4 separate regions of the Homo sapiens genome follow, and regions 1, 3 and 4 are each linked to region 2. Evidence: promoter capture Hi-C in 16 types of primary human blood cells and fetal thymus (Javierre and others, 2016). All regions are on one chromosome and are shown on one strand. The core of a region is centred on a gene start or on the middle of the fragment in contact, and the rest is flanking DNA. Distances in the headings are between cores, read along the strand shown.

Region 1 (2,700 bases), core at 1-2,500, 650 kb before region 2:
TTTTTTAAACCACACATATACAAGCCTTCCGATAAGTCTAGGCCTCAGAGTTTGATGACTCACTACCACCTCCAGAAAAATTTAAAAATTTAACCATCACTACTTAAAACTCTAGCAAAGCCACACGAACACATTAAGTAAACCGAGGAAAAAACGGCAAGTGGGCCACACAAGGCTCTCCCTGCGGGGATAAGGCTGTTAATTTGTCGACATAACGGGATTCTTTTAGAAGTAAAAGGCATAAATCTGCGTAACCACCACCACCTTTTGTTTTTGTTTTTTTGTTCTGTCAAGCTTAATCAAGAAAGAGGGAAGGGAGTTGTGTCCCTTCACTTTGTAGGATCGGATCCTGTCCACCCAGTTCCCGAATGCTCTCAACAGTTACCCAACCGCCTGTTTCAAAGGCTTCCCTGTTGCTCAGAATGCCACCTGGACACTTCTGGAAGGAGACTATCAGGGAGATAGGCTTCCCCTCCTCCCAGGCTGTGTACAGGTCCCCACTCAATCCAGCCCAGGGCAGAGTCCAAACGGGGAGGGAGACGCAGACAGGGTCAAAGGGACCCCAAGAGTCCAGCACATCTGGGAAAGAGAAAAGGAAAAGGTGCTGTGGCTTCCTGTAGCTGGGGCGCACGCCAGCGCGCCCCCTTTCCTCTGGGAGGACCCCCGGCCCCCGTTCGTCCCCGAGCTCCCAGCCCGCCTCCGGGAGCCCCAGTGAGAGGAAAAACGTGCGGGGACCCCCCAGCAGCTCCAAACGCCGAGGCGCTCCCCGCGAGCCTCAGACCCGACCCAACGCCAGGACTCGCGCCGCCGGCCCGGGAAGAAACCCCCACAGCCCGCGCCCCGGGCTGGCTGGAGGGTGGGGGCGGCTAGCCAGGCAGGGCGCCGAGGCCCGGGCTCCGGGAGCGGCCCAGCGGGCAGGGGAGACTGGGCCCGGAGGCCGGGTTTGGGGCTGTCCAGCCGGGACAGAGGGCCCGGGCGGGGGGGTCCCCCTGTGGGAACAAGGAGTCAGGGGGCGGCCCGGGCCTGGCGCCCTGCGCTGGGAGGCCGACTCCGGAGCGGCCCGGGCGGCCTGGGTCGGGACCGGGGCCGGGGGAGGAGCCCGCAGGCCGCACCTGGTCGGCGAAGTCCTCGGCCGTGCCCATCAGGTCGTTCTGGCCCATGGCGACGGCGGGAGGCTCGGCTCGGCTCGCTCGCTCGCTCGCTGGCTCTCGCCCGTCGGCGCCCGCACCCGCTGCGGCCTCCACAGGAAGTGCCCGGCGGCCGGCCTCGCTCCGCGTCGGCTGCGGCTCCAGCGGCTGCCACGTAGGCCAAGCCTTAAAGGGGCCGCGCGCCGCCCGGGCCCGCCCCGGTGCGTCTTAAAGGGGCCACGCGCCATCCCCAGCCTCCCGACCCATCCGCTCGAAGCCACGCCCGCCGCGCTCGACGCCACGCCTCTCACGCTGGAGGCCCCGCCCGCCGCGCGCAGGCCCTGCGGTCCCTCCCGGCCCGGCGGAACGCGTCCCTTTTAAGGGGGCGGGGACCTGGGGGTCTGGGGCCAGCGCGCGGGAGGGACGCCTGAGTGCCTCGAGGGCGCCGTTCGGGCGGGGAGGATCCCGCGGGTCCCACTGACCCACGCGGGGTGGGGCCAGGGGTGGACGCTCGCCCGTACGCGGTCGCTACTGATCATGCTTGGGCCAGGGTCCAATCGCAGGCGCCCCACGCAGGGGGAGCGAGGCCCAGGGTCCCCCGGAGAGCCCATGGAGAAGTACCAGGTGCCGAGTGTTCCCTGCGGGGAGGCGGGAGCTCCGTGGGGTAACGGTCGCAACCCTGGAGCTACGGCCGGCGGTTCCGACCGAGGGCGGCGAGGGGCCCGCGCCCTGGCCAGTGTCGGCCTGCAGCTCCTAGGTTGAACCCGGGGGGCCTCCAACGGTGACCTCCTGGGTGCCCTTTGCCACTCAGTTTCCCCCTTTGTGAATTGACTAAGGATTCTCCAGCCCTGGCTGAGTATTTGAGGGCGTGGGGCAGCTCCTCTATCCTTCGTGCCTGGGGTCTGTGCGCTTGGGTCCACCGAGGCAGGACCCCCGGGAACATCCCGAGTACATAATTGGGAGCCCCCAGTCCCCTAAAAACACCCCTGCAGCGTGGGTCTGTGAAAATGTTTGAGACCTAAAAAATTCACAAAACACAAAAGGAAAGCTGCAAAATAAAAGTAAATGTTTAATTAAATGCTTCTATACATGATATATACACTTTATTAAATGTTAGATTCAGCATTTGTGAAAAATGCATTCGCTTGGAAACAGTTTGCGGGTTAGATTTTTGTCACTTTGGAAGAATTGTCTTTGTGTGAGAGGACTATAGGGCGTTGCCAGAGGTGAAGCAGATGAGCTTCTGGTGGCCAGATAATTTTTAAAGTAAAGTTGTTTTTCAGATTAAAAAAAAATAGACGTTTCAGGAATATACCTGCTTTTGGAAAAAAAAATAGACTTGATTCGAGATACGGCTCCATTTTACTGTTTAATTTGCTGCCTAAGCTTGAACGCTCTCACACCAGCTCTGCCCTCAGCCCGCTGTGGCTTAGAACAGCAGTCCCTGGCCGGGCTCGGTGGCTCACGCCTGTAATCCCCAACACTTTGGGAGGCCAAGGCGGGCGGATCACCTGAGATCGGGAGTTCAAGACCAGCCTGACCAACATGGAGAAACTGTCTCTACTAAAAATAC
Region 2 (2,700 bases), core at 101-2,600:
CGCCTGTAGTCCCAGCTACTCAGGAGGCTGAGGCAGGAGAATCGCTTGAACCTGGGGGGCGGAGGTTGCAGTGAGCTGAGATCGTGCCACCACACTCCACCCTGGGTGACAGAGTGAGATTCCCTTTCAAAAAAAAAAAAAAAAAGAATGTGCGTTCCACAGCTGTGGGCTTAGTGCTCACACTAAGCATCTTCCTTGGATGTCTGTTATGCTTATTTTCTTTTTTTTTAGAGATGGGGTTTTGCTGTTTCGTCCCAGCTGAAGTGCAGTGGCATGATTATGGCTCACTGCAGCCTCGAACTCCTGGCTCAAGGGATCCTCCTGCCTCAGCCTCCCAAGTAGGTGGGACTCAGAGGTGAGCCACCACACCAGGTTCCATTATGCTAGTTTTCTTAATTGGCATTGGAGAAAACCATAAAATTAGGGGAAAAGGGTAGATACTAAAAGAGTGCTATTGGAGTATGATTGGAGGTGGAGTGAGAAAAGGAAATAGACCTTGCTTTCATGGGGCTGTTGAGGAGTCCAAATGAGCAGTATAGAGGCCTGGCTTGGTTGGATGAGATGGAGAAATTCAAGACCTATTTTTGAGATAGTAAGCCCGGACATTTAATTAATTAAAAATAATTGTATCAATTACTGAGAGTAAGAATACTAATAAAAGCAGTAACAGCAGTGGCAAAAGTAACCACACAAGCAGAAATACGAAAACCAAGATGATAAGACCATACAGTCCGGCAGTGTCTTACTAACAGGGTTGTGGGCGTCCCACTCCTTCTCTTCATCCTCCTCCAGCTCCTCCTCCACGTCTTCCTCCAGCTCCTGCTCCTCTTTCTTTTCCAGTACCTCCTCAGCCCCTTCTCCTCTGCCAGCCCCTCCTCCCACCTCCGCTCCCAGCCCCTCCTCCTTTCCCAGCCCCTCACCATCCAGCCCCTCCTCCTCCATCTCCTCCTCCTCTCTCAGCTCCTCCTCCTCCCCCAGCTCCTCCTCCTGCTCCTCCTTCTCCTCCACTCCTCCTTCTGCTCCTCCTTCTCGTTCAGCTCCTCCTCTCCCAGCCCCTCCTCCTCCTCCAGCCCCTCCTCCTCATCCAGCCCTTTCTCCTCTCCCAGCCCCTCCTCTCCCAGCTCCTCCTCCTCCTCCCTCCTCCTCCTCCAGCCCCTCCTCCTCCAGCCCCTCCTCCTCCAGCCCCTCCTCCTCCTCTTCCAGTTCCTATTCGGGGCGGGCCCAGCCCCTCCTCGCGGAGCGATCGATGGCTTGGGCTCGTCGCACACGCCTGCCCAGCCTCTGCGCTCGGCTCGCCAGGCCTGCGGCGCTGCCATGGAGACACGGCCCAGCGGCCGCCGGCCCCGCCCTGGGAGCCCCGCAGTGCGTCGCGCCGCTGCCCGCATCTCCGAGGCCCGCGACGAGCGGTGACTGGGGCGGGCGACGTGGGGGACCCGGGGATGCGGGCAGACGATAGGGGGCTGGAGGATGGGGCGACCCAGAGCGCGCGGGGTCTGGGGCGCGGGGATGGGGGCCGCGGGCCACGCGACGGGGACCCCAGGGTGCGCGCAGGTGGCGGGGACGCGCGATGGGGGCCCGGGAAGCTGAGGCTGACCTAGCGCAGGCATCCCAGGAGGGGAGGTCCCTGACGCTGCGCAGCTGGGAAGGCGTTCGGGAGTGGGTTGCGATGCTTCCCTGTTTGTTTTCTCCTGACATCGTTTTTGTTTGGGTCCAGGGGCCTCACGGGAGCTGGATGCTCGGAGCAGCAAGGCGGCCCTGGGGGCCCCTTCCGGTCCCGGGGCTGACGCCTGGCGGCGTCTCCGGGAACCCGCGCCCTTTCAAGCGCCGCTGGCTCCTGTTTCACAGATGGAGACCCTGAAGCCCCAACAAGCAGCCTCCCCAGCACCTCCCAGTGACTGAAAAAGCTGGCACTGGGCGCCCGTCTCACTCTCCACCCAGCTCCCAGGCTGCCCCACGGGACGTAAGTAGCTCGATCTAGGCCGCTGACCCCCAGAGACTTGATGCTGCGCTGCAGACTGCCGCCGCTGCCGGGGCGCTTGACTTCCCCTCTCCTGACAGCACGTTCGTTCCTTTGCAGCAGCACCTTTGGGGAGAGACGAGACCTGAACAAACGCTGGGGCTGGATCCCCAGGGTGGGTCAGAACAGCCGTTGCCCTGAAAGCTGGCCCGGACAGATGCGTGCGGGGCGTGCCACCGGAGCTCCTTCCAGCTTGCGTCTGGGGCCACCATGTCCCTTCCTCAGGGCACTGGATCCATCTCTTCAAGCTCAGTGGTCCAGGCCATGGTGGCAGAATCACCCCCCAGGGTGTGACGCCTCGTCCCTGTCAATTCCACACAGCTGCACCCGGAAGAGCTGTGGCCGGGCGCCGCTCTGACCTGTGTGCGGTCCCCTGAATGGGTCTCAGGTGTCTTCAGAATGGTGAGGCCGCCTCATTTCCTCACCACACAACCCTCCTGAGGACGTTGCCTGCAAATGGGCGGAATTCCTAATTTCTACCATTCAGTTAAACGAGGGATCCTTAAGCCCCAAAGCTGGGAAAGCTGTCCGTTAATTTAGTGCGCGTGGGCCGTCTCAGAACAGCAGGGTTCCCAGGAGTCCAGCGGGACGGGGGAGGGGATGAGTGGCCGTGTCCCCCTGGCAGAGAAGGCCTTGTCTGAAGGCTACGCCCGCCTCCGGTACAGGGACACCTCCTTGCTCAT
Region 3 (2,827 bases), core at 311-2,810, 570 kb before region 2:
TGGTGGCGTGTGCCTGTAATCCCAGCTACTTGGGAGGCTGAGGCACAAGAATCACTTGAACCCGGGAGGTGGAGGTTGCACTAAGCCCAGATCGCACCACTGCACTCCAGCCTGGGCAACAGAGTGAGACTCTGTCTCAAAAAAAAAAAAAAAAAAAAAGCGAAATGGTAAAGAATGGTAAAGACCTTTCTGATGTAGACTGACAGCTAACCCAAGACTGAAGCATAATTTTACAGTCTGATATAACTTGGACAGAATAGCACCCTGCACCCTCCCCGAGGTTTCAAGTGTCCTGGGAGAACTGTGTTCTGCAGGGTATCAGCTTCCCCAGAGGAGGCAGCCTGGCCCCGCTCTGGCACCCTGACTGTGTGTCCTTGGGGAAGTGATGTAACGTCCCTGGACCTCGGTTTTCTGGGTAGAGTAATGGCGTATTCCTAGTAGGGCTTTGTAAGCATTAAATGTGATCCGGAATCTGTGAGCCCTTGCACACGAAGGCTTCCGTGAGTGCTAATTATTACTTGTGGCCGGTCCTTCTGGGCTGCCCCTTTTCTCTCAGATCCGGGACACCCACAGCTTGAGGACCACAGCGTTCCATGGGCAGCAGGTGCTCTACTGGGAGTCAGAGAGCAGCCAGGCTGAGATGGAGTTCAGCGAGGGCTTCCTGAAGGCTCAGGCCAGCCTGCGGGGCCAGTACTGGACCCTCCAATCATGGGTACCGGAGATGCAGGACCCTCAGTCCTGGAAGGGAAAGGAAGGAACCTGAGGGTCATTGAACATTTGTTCCGTGTCTGGCCAGCCCTGGAGGGTTGACCCCTGGTCTCAGTGCTTTCCAATTCGAACTTTTTCCAATCTTAGGTATCTACTTTAGAGTCTTCTCCAATGTCCAAAAGGCTAGGGGGTTGGAGGTGGGGACTCTGGAAAAGCAGCCCCCATTTCCTCGGGTACCAATAAATAAAACATGCAGGCTGACCGGCGTTTTTTTCTTATAAGCTGTCCAGACCTGGCTTGAAAACCCATCCCATGGCAAGGCAGGGATTCGCTGGCCGCGGTTGGCTCTATCTTGATCTGAGCAAGCCGCTGGACGTCCCTAGTTATCTTCTTCCTATCCAGGAAGAAAATCCAATCAGGATTCCACTCCGAGGATGGCGCATTAGCCAGCTCCCTGCGAAGCCCCACCCGTGTGTCCTGGTGTGAGGCTCTGACCGCTAAGGTGTCTGCGCGCCTCCAGGCCCCGCCCCCTATGCTAATAAGCGCCCGCCTCCTTTGGGAGCAAGTCGCCGCAAACTGCGAGCCCCCGCCCCCTACGCTAATGACGCCCGCCCCCCTCGGGCACACCTCTCCGATGCCTGCGAGCCCCGCCCCGTATGCTAACGAGCTCCCCACCCCCAGCTCCTCGCCGCAGCCTGCGGGTCCCGCCCCCTACAATAATGAGCACCTACCTCCCCTCAAACGCCCCTAGTCGCGGCATGAGGGTCCCGCTCACTATGTTAATGAGCACCCGCCTCCCTTCGGGCGCGCCTCGCCGCAGCCTGAAAGCCCCGCCCCCTATGCTAATATGCTCCCTCTCCCACAAGGCAGCGCGCCGGCTCGGACGCGGCCGGCTACCGAGCCCTTTGTGAGGGCTGTGAGCTGCGCCTGACGGTGGCACCATGAGCAGCTCAGGTGGGGCGCCCGGGGCGTCCGCCAGCTCTGCGCCGCCCGCGCAGGAAGAGGGCATGACGTGGTGGTACCGCTGGCTGTGTCGCCTGTCTGGGGTGCTGGGGGCAGTCTGTGAGTATCCAGTCGGGGAGAGGGGCCGGCCCCGCCGCGCATGCGCTCCTCGCCCTGCCCTGCCCCGCCCCGCCCCGGCGGCCCCAGGGGAAAGGACCCGCTGGGGGTCGGGGGTCTGCCGGGCGCCTCCCGGGGCGGAGGAATGGCGGGGCCGCCGGGAGCCGGCGTCCTGGGGTTGCCATGGTTACCCGCTCGGGCCTGGGCGCCTTGGTACCCCGGGCTGGGCTGGGCTGGCGCTTCTGGGAACATTCCCGGAGGGACCAGAAACCCCAGGGCGGGGGGGCGGCGGGGGCGGGGGTGGGGCACCGGCCTGGGGCACGTGACTGAGCCCTCCCCCCGCTCCCCAGGGGCTTTTGTGAGACTTTCTCGGTGATGCTCACGGGGCGCATGCCCACCTGGCCCGTACTAAAGCGTCAACTGTTGACTTGGGCGTAGGTGACGGCAGCCACATTGCTAACCTTTGGGCAAGGATTGTTTGTAAGGGAGGCGGGTGCACGGCTGGCTAGATTTCTGGCAGGAAGCCACTGGGCGGAAGTTTGCTGAGGGTCAGGTGGTGTCAGGGCACAGGTGGCCCCTGGGGCCGCGGGGCAGTGAGCTGAGGGCCCGGCCTCTCCCTGGGTCCTCTGTCCGCTCTCATATCTCCCCCGTTGCTGCTGCCTTAGCCGCCTGTCACCGGCCTTCCTCCCCTTCTCCGCACGCATCCCAGTCACAGACCCTGACCTTAGGCTGCCAGGGAAGCTAGGCTCTTAAGCACAGCCAGAAAAGGACAAAGAGGGAGGCAGGTCAGCTCCAGGAGTGAATGGAAGCCGTACAGCTGGCCTTCCAGGGAAAGACAAGTCTGTCTGAGTGATACCCTTTCCTTTCCTGTCTGCCCTCAATCTTGTGGATTACTGGAGTGGGCAAGGTCTTAGAGAATGTCTGTCGAGGATGTCTGCAGGTTTTAAACAGTGCCTGCCTGGCAGAGAGGGCTAGCTCTGGGCCTGGGCAGGGCAGGCCCCATCAGCAATCCTGCCAGAAGGACCACCTTTTCAGGGTCACCTTGGGTTCCACAGCCTTT
Region 4 (2,700 bases), core at 193-2,692, 680 kb before region 2:
GAGACCTGGGACCTAGAGTGCAGCACAGACCTCTGAGTGCAGGCAGAGTCTACCCCAGCCACCCTCTATGCCCCAACCTTAGCAGAACACGCAGATTTCTGGGGATTCCCTTTCTGCCAAATAAAGTCAATCACTGAAACACAGATGAACTCATTCCATCAGCAGACACCGCAGGGGGTGCCAGGACTGGCCCCGCCTTTGCCAGAGCAAGCTCATCCTGGAACTCCTGGCCAGCCCTCCAAGCCCTGTCCAGGGCTCCAGTCCAGACTTCACGTCCAGGCCCACAGCGTGTCCCAGGGAGCCCTGCAAACTCAACACCAGCTCCCCGTCCCCAGCCCTTGGCTTAACTTCTTAGCCCGCCGCCACCTTCGCCACGCCCTCCCATCCGAAGAGTCCTTCCAATTCGACCCCTCTGCACCGCCTACATCCACGCTTTCCTTCCACTCCCACTCAGGCTGCCCCGCTCCAGACCTCATCCCTGCACTGCGGGCCCCGCTCCCTCCAGTCTCTGCGCGGCAGGGAAGAGGTCCTAAAAAGTGGTCATTCCAACCGGGCGCGGTGGCTCACGCCTGTAATCCCAGCACTTTGGGAGGCCGAGGCAGGGATCACCTGAGGTCAGGAGTTTGAGACTAGCCTGACCAACATGGTGAAACCCCAACTCTACTAAAAATACAAAAATTAGCCGGGCGTGATGGCAGGCGCCTGTAATCCCAGCTACTCGGGAGGCTGAGGCAGGAGAATCGCTTGAACCCGGGAAGCACAGGTCGCAGTGAGCCGAGATCGCGCCACTGCACTCCAGCCTGGGCGACAGGGGGAGACTACGTCTCCAAAAGAAAAAAAAAAGGGGGGTAATTCCACTCCCTCGCTTAACATCCCTCATGGTTCCCCGGTGCGCCGGGACAAGGGGCTCAAGTTCCGCGCCGCGCCTCTCGGCCTCTGCCCTCCAGCCGCACTGGACGGCCTCGGCGCTGGAGTTGCCTGGCCCTGGGGCCGGGCCTTTGCGCGCGGTGCTCAGGGAGGGCCCGGGGCCCCCTAGGTTCGGAGTCTGGCGCACGACCGAGCGGACTCCTGGACGCACTCGCATTGTTTGTGCCCATTTTTGGCGGGGTGTGGGAAATAAGTCACACGCAGGAAAGGGGATCTCCGACCCCAGCGCCTACGCACCCACCCACCCCCACTCCCGCCCACACACCCACCCCCCCTCCATCCCCACCCCCCACCACACCCTCATACCCGCCCCAGCGCCCGCACACCAGACGCCGCGTCCGCCGGGTCGGCCTAGGGCGGGGTGGTCAAGTGCCTCTGCGACCCGCACTTTCCCGCGTCTCTCCCACGGCCTGGCCCTCCCGCCGCAGTCTCTCTTCCCCGCCGCGCCGCGGTCCGAAAACCTAGTCAGCCGCCGCAGCCTCTCGGCCCCGCCTCGATTTTTAGCTTTATAGGAATGCTGTTGCTTTAAATCCGAAATCCCGTGCCGGTATCAACTCTCGCGATCTCCGAGGCCGCATACATATTACCCACAATTCCCTTTCCTTTCTCTCTCCTCCCGCCGCCCAAGATGGTGAGTGAGCTGTAGTTCCGTGGCACTATAGCCAGGTTCCGGCTGTATCCGCTGCCATCCTCCTCCAGGCGCGGCCTCGGAGGGCCTCCTGCTCCTCCTGGCGCTAGGAGAGCCCCACTCGGTGTGGCACGGAGACACCGAGGTGGATTAGAGCCCCACTTGGTGTGGCACGGAGACATTGAGATGGACTAGAGCCCCGGGCGGCCGAGAGCGGAATGCGTTGTTCCCGGTGTCGCAGGGCTGGGTGTCGCAGGCCTGGAGCACCGCAGTGCGGGGCTCGGAGCCCTAGCGTCTCTCGGGCTTGCTGGGGGCCGCTCCAGAGGCCTTGTGAGCGACGAGTTCTGAGCCCGCCCCTGTTGCTTCTAGAGCCTGTGGGGCCGCGACTCAGAGGAGTCATGAGTCCGGGGTGTCTCCTGGGTGGGCGACGCGAAGAGAGCGTGGTCTCGGGCTTAGCCTTGCTCTGGCCACTCGGGGTTCCCGGGGCTGCATGCTTGTGCGGCTGAATGTGAGATGCTCCTGTCGAGGGGTGGTGCTGGGGGGTTGCAGAAAGCTGCTCGCCAGCTTAGTTCAGGCAGGTGCTGTCAGCGTCCCTTGTTTTGGAGGAGCCAGCCTGAGCCCTACCCCCGACGAAGCGAGTGGAGGCGGCGGTTTAACTGACGTTTTCTTTCTGCCCAGCCGAAAGGAAAGAAGGCCAAGGGAAAGAAGGTGGCTCCGGCCCCAGCTGTCGTGAAGAAGCAGGAGGCTAAGAAAGTGGTGAATCCCCTGTTTGAGAAAAGGCCTAAGAATTTTGGCATTGGTAAGTAACAAACGGCAGAATGAAAACGGTCTATGTTTTTCTCAAGGGAAGGTGGTAATTGGGTTGTGTTGTATCTTGTAGGTTTTAGTGGGTGTAAAGTGGTCGCAGTCCTTAATTTGTGTCTCTTAGAGACGGGGGCAATGATACATGCTTCTTGCTTTCATTGGGAGTTGCTGAGCGAGCATTCAGCTCAATATGGTAGTGGCCTTGAATTCAGCTTAGCCATCTGGAAACAAGTACAGTAGCAGTGTCGCAGCGAGGTACTAGGACTGCAATTCTGCTGTACTTCGTGGCACCTTGGCTTCTTGTTAGATGAGGAAAAGCATCGTGCTCTTTGTTCTCAGGT

What was found. Contacts are between HindIII fragments. The CHiCAGO score rates a contact against its expected background, and 5 or more counts as called.
Region 1: a contact is called between the fragment with the promoter of SURF4 here and the fragment with the promoter of BRD3OS in region 2, in 5 of 17 cell types (non-activated CD4 T cells, M1 macrophages, megakaryocytes and 2 more). The highest score is 13.2, in non-activated CD4 T cells.
Region 3: a contact is called between the fragment with the promoter of CACFD1 here and the fragment with the promoter of BRD3OS in region 2, in 1 of 17 cell types (naive CD8 T cells). The highest score is 5.5, in naive CD8 T cells.
Region 4: a contact is called between the fragment with the promoter of MED22 here and the fragment with the promoter of BRD3OS in region 2, in 1 of 17 cell types (fetal thymus). The highest score is 9.6, in fetal thymus.

What each region holds. Positions count from the first base shown.
Region 1 is chr9:133,374,810-133,377,509 of GRCh38, forward strand. It overlaps SURF4 (surfeit 4), which reads right to left and starts at 1,251. Exons shown (of 6, transcript NM_033161.4): 1 at 1,113-1,251. The coding sequence starts at 1,160. STKLD1 (serine/threonine kinase like domain containing 1) reads left to right here and starts at 1,557. Exons shown (of 18, transcript NM_153710.5): 1 at 1,557-1,751. The coding sequence starts at 1,665. RefSeq lists silencers at 676-955, 966-1,205, 1,296-1,795. The HindIII fragment of the contact is 2,219 bases long and covers 293-2,511 here.
Region 2 is chr9:134,024,131-134,026,830 of GRCh38, forward strand. BRD3OS (BRD3 opposite strand) reads left to right here and starts at 1,351. Exons shown (of 3, transcript NM_001355256.2): 1 at 1,351-1,406; 2 at 1,715-1,960; 3 at 2,078-2,700. The coding sequence starts at 2,618. RefSeq lists silencers at 785-914, 1,225-1,644. The HindIII fragment of the contact is 9,456 bases long and covers 1-2,700 here.
Region 3 is chr9:133,458,418-133,461,244 of GRCh38, forward strand. It overlaps CACFD1 (calcium channel flower domain containing 1), which reads left to right and starts at 1,561. Exons shown (of 5, transcript NM_017586.5): 1 at 1,561-1,770. The coding sequence starts at 1,650. ADAMTS13 (ADAM metallopeptidase with thrombospondin type 1 motif 13) reads left to right here. Exons shown (of 29, transcript NM_139027.6): 29 at 557-969. The coding sequence ends at 763. RefSeq lists silencers at 1,157-1,376, 1,387-1,486, 1,777-2,076. The HindIII fragment of the contact is 16,509 bases long and covers 1-2,827 here.
Region 4 is chr9:133,346,689-133,349,388 of GRCh38, forward strand. It overlaps MED22 (mediator complex subunit 22), which reads right to left and starts at 1,443. Exons shown (of 5, transcript NM_133640.5): 1 at 1,234-1,443; 2 at 1-12. It overlaps RPL7A (ribosomal protein L7a), which reads left to right and starts at 1,530. Exons shown (of 8, transcript NM_000972.3): 1 at 1,530-1,558; 2 at 2,234-2,354. The coding sequence starts at 1,556. RefSeq lists enhancers at 1-21, 1,326-1,620, 1,482-1,951. The HindIII fragment of the contact is 16,795 bases long and covers 1-2,700 here.